Linked DNA regions of Homo sapiens: regions 2 and 3 are each linked to region 1. The links are contacts of gene promoters, found by promoter capture Hi-C in human tissues and cell types (Jung and others, 2019). All regions are on one chromosome and are shown on one strand. Each heading gives the region's core, a stretch centred on a gene start or on the middle of the fragment in contact. The rest is flanking DNA. Distances are from core to core; before and after follow the strand shown.

The links. Contacts are between HindIII fragments. The study calls those that stand out against the background at their distance.
Region 2: a contact is called between the fragment with the promoter of UBXN6 here and the fragment with the promoter of SHD in region 1, in 2 of the 25 tissues and cell types used here (dorsolateral prefrontal cortex and lymphoblastoid cells).
Region 3: a fragment that was not itself captured here is called in contact with the fragment with the promoter of SHD in region 1 in 5 of the 25 tissues and cell types used here (bladder, dorsolateral prefrontal cortex, liver and 2 more).

Annotation. Positions count from the first base shown.
Region 1 is chr19:4,277,363-4,281,805 of GRCh38, reverse strand. SHD (Src homology 2 domain containing transforming protein D) reads right to left here and starts at 2,540. Exons shown (of 6, transcript NM_020209.4): 1 at 1,446-2,540. The coding sequence starts at 1,742. The HindIII fragment of the contact is 14,506 bases long and covers 1-4,443 here.
Region 2 is chr19:4,455,774-4,460,216 of GRCh38, reverse strand. UBXN6 (UBX domain protein 6) reads left to right here and starts at 2,423. Exons shown (of 11, transcript NM_025241.3): 1 at 2,423-2,602. The coding sequence starts at 2,520. RefSeq lists an enhancer at 2,162-2,361 and silencers at 2,472-2,521, 2,552-2,621. The HindIII fragment of the contact is 9,046 bases long and covers 1-4,443 here.
Region 3 is chr19:4,414,339-4,418,781 of GRCh38, reverse strand. CHAF1A (chromatin assembly factor 1 subunit A) reads right to left here. Exons shown (of 15, transcript NM_005483.3): 4 at 706-762. Among named protein-coding and RNA genes, the nearest start is that of CHAF1A, 14 kb to the right of the region's middle. The HindIII fragment of the contact is 3,051 bases long and covers 1,056-4,106 here.

The DNA of each region.
Region 1 (4,443 bases), core at 1,291-3,790:
CCCTGGCTCTTCTTACCAACGTCTTACTTCTTATTTATTTATTTATTGAGACAGAGTCTCGCTCTTGTCACCCAGGCTGGAGTGCAGTGGCGCGATGTTGGCTCACTGCAACCTCCACCTCCTGGGTTCAAGCAATTCTCCTGCCTCAGCCTCAGGAGTAGCTGGGATTATAGGCGCACGCCACATCGCCTGGTTAATTTTTGCATTTTTGGTAGAGATGGGGTTTCACTGTGTTGGCCAGGCTGGTCTGGAACTCCTGACCTCAGGTGATCCACCTGCCTTGGCCTCCCAAAGTGCTGGGATTACAGGTGTGAACCACCACACCCAGCCTTTTTTTTTTTTTTTTTTTTTTTTTTTGAGACAGGGTGTTGCTCTGTCACCCAGGTTGGAGTGCAGTGGCGCAATCATGACTCACTGCAGCTTTGACCTTCTAGGCTCAAGTGATCCTCCTGCCTCAGCCTCCTGAGTAGCTGGGACTATGGTGTGCACCACCACAACTAGCTAATGTTTTGATTTTTTTTTTGTAGAGACAAGGTCTCACTCTGTTAGCCCGGGCTGGTCTCGAACTCCTGGGCTCAAGCAATCCTCCCACCTCGACCTCCCAAAGTGCTGGAATTACAGGCATGAGCTACTGCACCCGGTGGCCTGGGTTCAAATCCTAGTAAGCTAGAACCCCGTGAGACCTTAGCCAAGTCACTACCGTTCTGCGAGCCTCAGTTTCGCTTCTGTAAAACGGGAACATAGTGGTAGGAAGGGCAGCATCACCGGGAGGATATTTAGGTGCCCAGCAGGGGAGCAACTCACTCAGATCTATTTTAGGAAGATCCCACCAGGTTCCAAGAGGAAGGGGTGCTGAGGGGAGGGGGCTGGGGGACTGCAGGGGATGACCATGGAGGAGGAGGAGGACCCGGAGACCAAGCAGGGTGGTCAGAGAGGCAGAAGGACAACCAGCATTATGCATTGAAAAGGGACAGATATCCACCGGGCGCAGTGACTCACACCTGTAATCCCAGCACTTCGGGAGGCAGAGGCGGGAGGATCACCTGAGGTCAGGAGTTTGAGTCCAGCCTGGCTAACATGGTGAAACCAGTCTCTACTGAAAATACAAAAATTAGCCGGGTGTGGTGGCACACACCTGTAATCTCAGCTACTGGAGAGGCTGAGGCAGGAGAATCGCTTGAACCCCAGGAGGTGGAGGTTGCAATGAGCCGAGATCCCACCACTGCACTCCAGCCTGGGTGACAGGGGGAGACTGTCTCAAAATAAATAAATACATAAAAAGAACAGACTTCCCCAAGCAGGTGGAGGTCTGGAGGACTGGGAAGGGTCTGTCTGGTGCCCCAGTCCCCTCCTGTGATCACACATAAAATAAGCTCTCCACGATCCAGAGAGCCCATCCTGAGCCTCCCCTCCACCCAGTCTCCCCAGGCCACCCAGCCACGCACCTCCTCCCCGGGGCCGCCCAGAAGGGCCTTGGCTCTGGCCATATCCGCAGCCTCCACCTTGATGAGCCGGTGCTTGGGAGAACCATACTTGGCATCTCCGGGGTTCTTGGAGTCCCCAGGGCCCGCGGGGTCCGGCTCCAAGCGGCTCTCCGCGTCCTCATAGGGGTCCTCGAAGTCCAGGTTCTTCTGCGCGCGGTAGGCCCTCAGGATGTCGCTCTCGGTGTAGTCCGGGGTGGGCGGCTGCGGAGGGGGCCTCCGACCCCCAAAGCTCAGGTAGTCCCGTAGCCACTTGGCCATTTGGGCGCCTGTCACCCCAATCGGGCCACTGTCAGAGGGGCCCCCACATGCCCTTCTCCGGGCCCCTTTCCCCAAGGAGGAGGAGGAGGTGGAGAGGAAGGGAAGAGCAGGGAAGGATGAGAAAGATCAGGTGCGCCCTTTGGCGGGGCTCTGGATGGATAGAGGGAAGGAAAAGGTGAACGAGGGGGAGGAAAAGGAGGCGACAGAGGAGGGAGGAAGAGAAGCCCGCCTTAGCCCAGCTTGGGAAGCACCGCGGGGGAAGGGGGGACCTCGCAGGGCCCCGAACCCCGCGCGCTGGGGGCTAGGGCGAGGGGCATCCGCGGAGGCGCGCGGAGTTTCCGCGGGCAGCGCGGTTCCCTGGAGCGACACGGCCGCCCGCCGCCTCCAGGAAGCTCCGGGATCCCTTCCTGGGGTCGGGAGATCCGGGCCAGCGCCACCTGCGGACGCTCCCGGCCCCTCTCCCAGCCCGGACGCCTGGGTTCTCAGCGCAGCGGGCGGGCTCCCCAGGGGCGCGGGCGCCGCGCGCAAAGTTGGGCCGCGGAGACTGTGACCCCGGCGGGACGCATCCTTTGTCGCGCTCCTCTCGGCTCAGCGGGGAGCCCCCAGTCCCGCGGCCCCCGCCGCCTCGATCCGGCCCCAGCCACCCGCACAAAGGGAAATAAAAACCTCCTCCAATCCCCCTTCACGCTTTCGGAGAGACTTTCCCCGCCGCCGCCGGGAGGTGGGACGCTGGGGAGGGGGGCGCGCAGGAGGACGCCCCTGTTCCCACCAGCCCCGGGCCGCGTCCCGGGCAGCAGCGTCAAGGCTCCCCCACCTCCCCTCCGCCGCGTCCCCCGCCCCTCCCCTCCCCCTGCGCTCCCCTCGGAGGTGACTGAGACCTTCAGCTGTTCTGGGGAGGGAGGGAGCCGCTGCCCGCGGAGGGAAGGGGGGCTGGGGGCGGGAGTCGCCGGGGCCGAGGCCGCGGCAGCTGGACACTGACCGGGACGCCCGAGACTGGCCGCAGCGAGCGCGGAGCGCGGGAGGTGGGGAGCAGCTGGGAGTGACACTGCTGGGGAGGGGAGGGGAGAGGGAGAAGGAGGGGAGGGGGAAATTGCCCGGGAAATGGGGGACTGCACTTGACCGCCAAAAGGGGTGAAATTGACCAGCAGAGGGGGTGGGAATGACCGCCAGTGAGGGTCGAAATGGAACCGATGTCTGGCGGTGAAACGGACCGGGAGAGTGGGGATGTGCAAATTGGTGGAGAGGTCACTGGCTGAAATTGATATTGGAGCAGCAGAAGGAAGAGGGGGGCAAAGGAAGGGTGGGTGCGGATCGGGCTTCCCCTCCCCCAAGAGGGCTCTGCTCTGTGCCCCGCTCCCGCCCCAGAGGACTAATTGCGGGCAGGGGGAGGGTTGGGGGCAGCTGGCTTGGGGAAGGGAGATGGTATCTGTGCCTGGCGCCTGTCCTCTGCATCTGTCCTTTTGTGGCTTCTGGGGGCGGGGTGGGGGGGAGCGGTGGCGGGAAGAGGGGCAGAAGTGAGAGGGGTCTGGCCTGAACTGGCTGCCTGTTGTCAGCTGTCGTTGTCTGAGGGTGAGGGCACTGAGAGGTTTGGGGGGTGGGAGAGGAAAAGGGAGCCACTGGCCAATTTTCCAGTGCAGAACCGTTTTTTTTCTTTCCCCATAAGGGGGCTTGCCCAGTTCCTCCTAATGAGGGGAGTGAGAGAGGGGTGGTCAGGAAGGATGGGACCCCAGATTCTCTCCTCTTGTGGCCAGCCCCCTGGTCAGGCACAGGTCATAGCTTGGAGAGCACAGTTGGAGGACAAGACAGAAGTCAGAACCAACACTGCTATGACTGGGGCCTCCTGGCAGCCCGGCGGGGCTGAGGGCAGGGTCTGTCACTCCCTGAGTCTTGGTTTTCCTTATTTGAAAGATGTGGTTTCTAACAGGAAATCCCAGACAGCTCTAGGAAGGATTCCAGGAGGGACCGAGCTATCACCTGGCTTCCTCATTTTATGGATGGGGAAACCGAGGCACAGAGATGGGAGGGACTTGTTCAGAGCCACTCCACAGCTGATTCTGCCTGCACATCGCCGTGGGGCCTGGCCTAGGGTGGCACTGGAGTCTCTCTTTTTATTTTTTTGAGACGGAGCCTTGCTCTGTCCTCCAGGCTGGAGTGCCGTGTTGCGATCTCAGCTCACTGAAACCTCCACCTCCCAGGTCCAACCAATTCTCCTGCCTCAGCCTCCTGAGTAGCTGGGATTACTGCCACCACGCCCAGCTAATTTTTATATAATTTTATATTTTTAGTAGAGATGGGGTTTCACCACATTGGCCAGGCTGGTCTGGAACTCCTGACCTCAGGTGATCTGCCGGCCTCGGCCTCCCAAAATGCTCTTCATGGAATCGGTTCTGCAACTCCTCTCCACGATGAGCTCCATTATCCAGATGGGAAAACTGAGGCCTGGAGCCAACAAGGCAAAGCCCCTGAAGGATGCAGGCGTCTAGACCCTTCTGTTCCTCCCCTTCCCTGCACTGGCTGTGTCCCCCAACACAGACCTGTTGAACTCCTTCCTCCCTCCTGAAGTGCATGGCCACCCCCGCTTCCCCCCACCCTTTCAGATCAGCGACAAGGCTGCGTCCCTGGGGGCGGCCAGGGAGCACAGCGGGTAATTGTCCTGCTTTCTGTCAGCCGCAAGGCAATTCCGGGCCACGGGGATGAGCTG
Region 2 (4,443 bases), core at 1,174-3,673, 180 kb before region 1:
AAGTTTGGGTTGCACTGTATTCTTCTTTTATTTATTTATTTTTTTACTTTATTTATTTATTTTTGAGACAGAGTCTCGCTCTGTCGCCCAGGCTGGAGTGCAGTGGTGCAATCTCAGCTCACTGCAACCTCTGTCTCCTGCGTTCAAGTGATTCTGCTGCCTCAGCTTCTCAAGTAGCTGGGATTACTGGCACACACCACCACACCCGGCTGATTTTTGTATTTTTAATAGAGACGGGGTTTTGCTATGTTGGCCAGGTCGGTCTTGAACTTCTGACCTTAAGTGATCCACCCGCCTTGACCTCCCAAAGTGCTGGGATTACAGGTGTGAGCCACCGCACCTGGCCCAATTCTTTTCCTTTTTTTTTTTTTTTTGAAACGGAGTCTTGCTCTGTTGCCCAGGCTGGAGCACAGTGGCATGATCTCGGCTCACTGTAAGCTCTGCCTCCTGGGTTCACGCCATTCTCCTGCCTCAGCCTCCCAAGTAGCTGGGACTACAGGCGCCCGCCACCAAGGCTGGCTAATTTTTTTAAAAATTATTTTCAGTAAAGACAGGGTTTCACCGTATTAGCCGGGATGGTCTCAATCTCCTGACCTCGTGATCCACCCGCCTCGGCCTTCCAAAGGGCTGGGATTACAGGCATGAGCCACCGTGCCTGGCCTTTTTTTCTTTTTTTAATAAGACAGGGTCTGGCTCTGTTGCCCAGGCTGGAGTGCAGTGGCGTGATCCTAGCTTACTGCAGCCTCCAATTCCTGGGCTAAAGCAATCCTCCCACCTTGGCCTCCCAAAATGTTGGGACTGCAGGCCTGAGCCACCCGTCCAACCCATGATATTTCAATTTCAGTCTTGGGGTGGGCTGTTTCCTCACCTGGAGGCTTCTCCTCCATCAGTCTCTGTGTATCTCATTCCAACTCCTTCTTTTTTGAGGCAGAGTCTCCCTCTGTTGCCCAGGCTGAAGTGCAATGGCGAGATCTCGGCTCACTGCAACCTCCACCTGCCGGGTTCAAGCGATTCTCCTGCCTCAGCCTCCCGAGTAGCTGGGATTACCGGTGCCCATAGAGACAGGCTTTCACCATGTTGGCCAGGCTGGTCTCAAACTCCTGACCTCAAGTGATCCGCCGGCCTCGGCCTCCCAAAGTGCTGGGATTAGAGGCATGAGCCACCACGTCTGACCCCCAACTCCCATTTTTTGAGGCTTGTTTTAACTGTCACTTTGTGTATCTTCTTTGTGGATTGCACAGACCAAAGTACGCCACTATTAACTGGTGTCCACCAAAGTGGATCCCCAATCCCCAGGTCCCAATTGGGTGCATTGGGTGCATCCTCTTTTTTTTTTTTTTTTTTTTTTTTTGAGACGGAGTCTCGCTCTGTCGCCCAGGCTGGAGTGCAGTGGTGAGATCTCGGCTCACTGCAAGCTCCGCCTCGCGGGTTCACGCCATTCTCCTGCCTCAGCCTCCCGAGTAGCTGTGAGTACAGACGCCTGCCACCATGCCCGGCTAATTTTTTGTATTTTTAGTAGAGACGGGGTATCACCGTGTTAGCCAGGATGGTCTCGATCTCCTGACCTTGTGATCCGCCCGCTTCGGCCTCCCAAAGTGCTGGGATTACAGGCATGAGCCACCGCGCCCGGCCCAGGTGCATCCTCTTAAACAGCTCCTACCTAGGGTACGTGGTGATGGTGGCGGGGGGGTGCTTCAGGCACCAAAACAGGCCAGATCGTGGGGGCCTCCAATACCCAACATTGAATTGGGATTTTATCACGTAAGCTCTGGGGAGACAGAGAAGGTTGGAATTTTTTTTGTTTTGCTTGAGACAGGGTCTCTCTCTGTCGCCCAGGCTGGAATGCAGTGGCTTGATCACAGCTCACTGCAGCCTCGACCTCTTGGGTTCAAGCGATCCTCCCGCCTCTGCCTCCCAAGTAGCTGAGAGGCGCGCGCCACCACCCTCGGCTAATTTATTTTATTTTATTTTTTTTTTTTTTATAGAGACGAGGTTTTGCCATGTTGCCAGGCTGGTCTCCAACTTCTGGGATCAAGCAATCCTTCCGCTTGAGCCTCCAAAGTGCTGTGATTGCAGGCGTGAGCCACCGCGCCTAGTTTAGGTTGAGCAGCGAAAGGGATAGGGCCCAGTGCTTTCTCTGCGAGGTTCAGTTGGCCTGTCCCTGTCCTATCACCGTTTGTCACCGTTTGGGGAGCGCCACGGAATGCCCTGTCTCCAATCGAGAGGTGCACTCGTCGCCCTGGCAACGGAGTCCGGAAGAACCACAGAGACGCGGCTCCAGCGTACAGAGCGGCCGCCCTGGGCCAGCAAGGCACCGAGCGCTAGAGAGGCACGTCTAGTCGATTGTCACGTGGCAGGCCAGGGGAAGGCGGGACTTCCGGCGGCGAGGTAAATTTTTTTTTTTTTTTTTTTTTTTTTTTTAATTTTCTTCCGGTGGCTGGTCTCCGGCGGCCCCGTCCCCGACTGGGCCCCGTGCCCCCCCGCCCCCGCGGCCCCCCGCCGCCGGGCCAGCCGCCACCATGAAGAAATTCTTTCAGGAGTTCAAGGCCGACATCAAGTTCAAGAGCGCGGGACCCGGTCAGAAGCTCAAAGAGTCCGTGGGGTGCGTGAGGAACGCAGGGGCTTGAGGCCCTGCGGGGCGGGGACGGCCGGGGAGAGAGATCTGGGGCCTTGGGCGGCTCGGGAGATCGGAGAGGATGAGGGGCTGGGAGCGGCACGCGAGGGTCAGGGGAGGGGGAGAGGCGCCGGGGGCGGACGAAGTCGGGCCGAGGGTGGGCGTCAGGGGGAGGGGAGAGAGATCTGGGGGCGGGGCAGGAGGGGGCGGGTATGACCCGGGGGCGCGGCGGGGGAGGCGAGGGGAGGGGAACTAGCGCAGGGGGCGGGGCGGGAGGGGAGGTCTCGGGGGCGGGGCCGCAGGAGGGTCCGATGCAGTGGCGGGGGATTAGGGCGACGGGGCTGTAGGCAGTTGGGGGTCAGTGGAACGACCTTTGGGGAAAAACGGGATCATGAGTCCTGAGCCGGGTGGTGAGGGAGAGCTCTGTCTGGGGACCCGGCTGGCCGAAGAGGCCGGGATGATTTGGGGCAATCTAGGTGACCATGGATGGGAGCTGAGCTTGGAGGAGGACGCACAGCTGTGGGGTGGGGTGGTGAAGAGTTGTTTTGAGGTATCCATGGGAAGAGGGGTTCTGGATTTGGTATCTGGAGCACGTGGGAGGCTGATGGGAGACTAGAAAGAGTCTGGAAGGCCAGGGAGGCCGGGGTGGGCAGCGTCGTCAGTGACCTGGGATGTCCTGGCGAATTGAGAGGGAGGGGCTGAGGAAGGTGTGTGAGGAGAGTGGAGGTGAGGGATTCTGACAGATGGACTCTTACCCGGGAGGGGCCTGAGAGGAGAAGACGGGTGAGACAGACGCGTCTTAGCAGGCTGGGAGAAAGAGCTTCTCTGCGAGGCTTCTCTGCCACGTCACTGTGCCAAGTGGATTATGGAAGTGGGAGAGGAGGGGAAAGGAGATAGATGCCGGGCAGGCTTCCGGATTGTCTAGGGAGGACTTGGAGAGAAGGGCCTGAGCAGGGCTGAGCCAGCTGGGAGGGCCGGGGAAGAAGTGGAGCTAGGGAAGGTGCAAGGCTGAGGGCTGTTGGGTTGAGAAAAGGGAAACTGGAGAGCTGGGGCCGCTGCAGGGAGCTGGCTGGCCAGAGGGTGGTGGGGACTGATGGAGAGGGACTGAGGAAGTCAGCCAGGCAGCCAGGACACGGGTCTGTAAGCAATAGTGGAAGGGATTGTGAGGGAGTGGGGGCTGGGAGAGGCAGGGAGGTGGCAGGAAGTGGGGGTCAGGAATCACGGGGCAGTGGGGTGGTGATGGAGGTAGGGGCATAGTGAGGACGTCAGGGTTCCTGGGGGAGAGCAGGAGAGCAAAGGCTGAGTGAGGGAGGGAGAGGGGTCAGGGAGAGAAGGGGGCAAATCGGGGGAGCCCTTCATTGATTCAACCAATAGTGGGTGGGGGGTGCTGGGGCCACTGGGACTGGGCATGATAGGAAGGATGCAGGGTATCGGGGTGATGGCTGGATCAGCCCAGAGCCTGGGCGGAGAGGGGAAGGTTGGAGGGGAAGGTTGGGAAAGGAAGCGGTGCGGAGGTCCCTTGTGGAGCGAGACTGCATATCCAGGGTGTGTGGGGTGGGTGGGCACCAAGTCCTGTTTTAGGCTGCAGTGGTGGACAGGAGAAGGCCTCTGCTGTCCCAGGGCTCACCTTCTAGAGGGAGCCGATGGACAAATAAACCAACAGACCTTGGATGAGCGCTCAGGCGATGAGTGCTTGGATGAGTGCCCAGGGCCTCCAAGGAGGGTGAGCAGGGGCCGTCAGGTGGTTTGGGAAGGCCTCTCCCAGGACACAGTGAGACTCAGCTGTGGGGAAATCTGCCCCTCCTTCTCTCCCTGCGGCAGCTCTAGCC
Region 3 (4,443 bases), core at 1,332-3,831, 140 kb before region 1:
CCACCCATCGAGTGTAGAGGCTATTCAGATGTTATAGCACTTAGCAATAAGTGAAAGACACAGGACTGGCCAGGCGCGGCGGCTCACACCTGTAATCCCAGCACTCTGGGAGGCCGAGGCGGGCGGATCACGAGGTCAGGAGATCGAGACCATCCTGGCTAACATGGTGAAACCCCGTCTCTACTAAAAATACAAAAAATTAGCCAGGCGTGGTGGTGGATGCCTGTAGTCCCAACTACTGGGGAGGCTGAGCCAGGAGAATGGCGTGAACCTGGGAGGTGGAGCTTGCAGTGAGCCGAGATCGCACCACTGCACCCCAGCCTGGGTGGCAGAGCGAGACTCTGTCTCAAAAAAAAAAAAAAAAAAAAAAAAGAGACAGGACTACAAGGAAATGGACTGGGTTTTTGGAAGGTAATTTGAAGCTACAATGGGATACTGAACCATTAAGACAGTGGTAGCACTATTGATAAAAGCTTAGAAAAGGCCACACACAAAACCTTAGGACTCACTCAGCAAGCCAAAAAATGACACAATCCACAAACCATGAAGTCCAAGTACTTAAAATGAAGCAGGAATCAAAATGATGGTCAGAGAAGGCTGGGGAAAATGTAAAAACTAGACCAAAGGAACTTCAAAGGGCTTTGCTTACTATTTAATGCAAAAAGCACAGCAGGTTAATTTTCTATTTCAGGGAAAATGTCTTACTCTTTGCAGTCTGAGCTTGTTCTTCTCTGTAGAGCCTTTGACGAATTTCTTAGTTATCTGAAAACAGAAGACGTTTATCTTTAAACACGGGTTATTTCAATTGCTTCGAGAAAAAGAGAAACCTTTCCAGGTGATCAGTTTTTCCACCAACAGAACCAAAATGTCATAATAGGGTCACAAACTCCAGTAAGTGTGCATACATGTGTGTATCTGGGATTAGATAACAAGAGAGACTACGGAGGCAGATAAAGAAATGAGTGAAGGACACCAAGCACAAGAAAAACAAGGCAAGCTCAGAAATAAAGGCAACAGACAAGGCTGGGCGCGGTGGCTAACGCCTGTAATTCCAGCACTTTGGGAGGCCGAGGCAGACAGATCACCTGAGGTCAGGAGTTCGAGACCAGCCTGGCCAACGTGGCAAAACCCCATCTCTACTAAAAATACAAAAATTAGCCGAGCGTGGTGGCAGGTGCCTGTAATCCCACCTACTCAGGAGGCTGAGGCAGAAGAATCGCTTGAACCCAGGAGAAGGAGGTTGCAGTGAGCCGAGATTGCGCCACCATACTCCTGCCTGGGCAACAGGGTGAGACTCTGTCTTAAAAAAAAAAAAAAAAAAAAAGCGACAGCTGGCCTGGGCGACAGGGAGAGGATGGATTTGTAGCAAAGGAGAGAGGACCTGCCTGTCCAAAGGAGATGGAGTTCTTACAGGAATATAGATCCCTATTTGCTGGTCCTTCCAATTTCTCCAAGAGAAGCTGATATTAGGAATTTCATATGAATTTTTTTAGGTGTTTAAAAATGGACACAGACGGGCACAGTGGCTCATGCCTGTAATCCCAGCACTTTGGGAGGTCAAGGCGGGAGGATCACTTGAGCCCAGGAGTTCAAGACCAGCCTGGGCAATAAAGCAAGACCCTGTCTCTAAAAAAAGCTTTTAGTTAGTCGGGTGTTGTGGTGCACATCTGTAGTCCTAGCTACCCAGGAGTCTGGGGTGGGAGGAGCCCGGGAGGTTGAGGCTGCACTGAGCTGTCCAACCTGGGTGACAGAGTGAGACTGTCTAAAAAAAAAATAAAAAGATACTAAATTAATCAAATAAAACATGTCTCCAGGCTGGTTTCCTGTGCACCACTAATTTACATTCTGTCTAGCTCAACTCTGCTTTTTATTTTAATGTTATTTTTGAGATGGAGTCTTACTCCTGTCACAGAGGCTGGAGTGCAGCGAGTGCCACGATCTCGGCTCACTGCAACCTCTACCTCCCAAGTTCAAGCGATTCTCCTGCCTCAGCTTCTTGAGTAGCTGGGATTATAGGCGTGTGCCACCACACCTGGCTAATTTTTGTATTTTTAGTGGAGATAGGGGTTTCATCATGTTGGCCAGGCTGGTCTCGAACTCCTGACCTCAGGTGATCCACCCGCCTCGCCTCCCAAAGTGCTAGGAATTCAGGCGTGAGCCACCGCGCCCAGCCAACTCTGCTTTTTAGAATGTGGAGTGAAAGCTTAAGACAAAAGGGAAACTTGCTGGGGTTTTCTAGGACTTCTACCTTCTAGGGCACAATATTTTCTATCACCTACCTTCAAACTGAGCATGAGCTACTAGGAATTACCAATAGGATCCATGGTGTGACTCACCATCCACCTAAATGGTCCCAGGAAGGAAGACGAACAGGGAGTCTGGACTTTGGCCTAAGCTATCTCCCACCGGGGCAGGGAATCCTGAAAACCAAACTAGTAGAAGTGAAGAGCAATGGGAAGAGACGCTTAAGAGTGGGAAGAAATAGTTCTCCGGGTTCATTGCAGACTTGCAGTGTAAGACTGAAGTTGACTGAAAAACCAAAGGCCCATTTTCCTGGCAATGGTCTGAGGGGTCAACAAAATTATGTAAGTGATTTCTTTTTTTTTTTGAGACGGAGTCTCGCTCTGTCGCCCAGGCTGGAGTGCAGTGGCGCCATCTCGGATCACTGCAAGCTCCGCCTCCCGGGTTCAAGCGATTCTCCTGCCTCAGTCTGCCCAGTAGCTGGGACTATAGGTGCCCACCACCATGCCTGGGTAATTTTTTTGTATTTTTAGTAGAGATGGGGTTTCACCATGTTAGCCAGGATGGTCTCGATCTCCTGACCTCGTGATCCGCCCGCCTCGGCCTCCCAAAGTGCTGGGATTAAAGGCGTGAGCCACCGCGCCCGGCCAACAGTGATTTCTTTATCTGGGAAAGCTGAACCCCTGACTAGGACCTCTCACAGAATAAAAGCTTCAGATGAATGAGCTCAAGACAGCCTTTCCACCTGGGTCCCACTGAGTCCTTTCTGGACTAAACCTTTCTTTAGGGAAAGGCCGAGCCGTTGTGAGAAGGCTGCCCGTGTTGGCAGGAGCTCTTTCACCACCGAGATCAGGCCAGGGTGTTCAGTCTTTGCTGAGAATGTGGCAACAGAAATGCCAGCCCGAGGCAGCCTCACCAAATGCTGCAGAAAAAGCATCTGTCTCTCCAGCATCTACTCTGCCTGCCAAGGCTGTGTGCCTCTCCCCCACGCTGAGGGATTTAACTGCAGAATATGGGAGCCGCAGCTCTCCGGGGCTGCCCTTTGTGTTCAGAGATTATAATACGGAATGTGGTCTTGGGGTGGCGGGGAATTCAGTTCCTTAGTCTTGCCCATGCCTGAAGCTCAGCTGCAGAATCTCCTGCCTCTTACAATGCCCCCCCTCTGCTGTGAGTCCAGAGATAACAGACTTGATGTGACTGGCAAGAGCCCGCTCAGTAATATCCAACAACCAAAACAGAGCAATTACTGCTTAATTTAAAACTGGTATCTTTTTTGCTTTGCCAAACCCTCAGATGGACCTTGAAGTCTGACAGAACTTTATCTTCTTGAAATTTGACCCAAGTGTTTATAGATCTCACTCTCAAAATTCTATGCAACACTCCCACATTCTACCCAGCTGGAGCCCGGTCAGACAGCACCCTCAACTGCCAAAAACGTGATCCAGGATCCCAGAAGGAAGCCAAAACACAAAAACCGACAATCCCAAGGAGTCGCGACAGAGCTCACTATGTGTGGGCATGAAAATTCCTGCACCCTTTCTCAGATAATCCTCTCAGAGCCTATGGACTCTGATTTTATACTAAAGGGTATCTAATTTCTAAGCCCAGACCAGATAAGCCGCTAAAACCTGACAGCAGGGGAGCGGAGGCAGGGGGGAAAAGAGAAAACCTCCAATTGGCCCAAGCATGAGAGAGTGCAAGCTGGGAAAATAAGAACGCACGCATTGCCTTGAGCTACCAAGACCTCATTCTCCTTAACAGCCCAAGGCCACTTGTAGAAGGAAGCTCAAGGGAACAATCATTTTGTGAAAGCCAAGCACAGAAACAGCAGAACTGAGAAAACAGCTCTGTAACCTACAGCATGTCCACACCATGGGATATCACGCAGCTGTTAAAAAGAGCTCCATCTTTCCATCCCAATATAAAAAACATCTAAGACACCCTTGAGTAACAAAGACAGATATTTACAGTATATGTCATACACAAGGAAACAAAATGATACTGGGTGTTTCCTAGAGATCTCTCTGGATATACAGGACACAGAAAAACACAAGGTGATGATGATGATAATAATGGCAACCTCCTGGGAGAACAGAGGGCTTCAAGGTTTCCATTCTTTTTCCTTTTTGTTTTTTTTTTTTTTTGAGACGGTCTGGCTGTTGCCCAGGCTGGAGCACAGTGGTGCAATCATGACTCACCGCA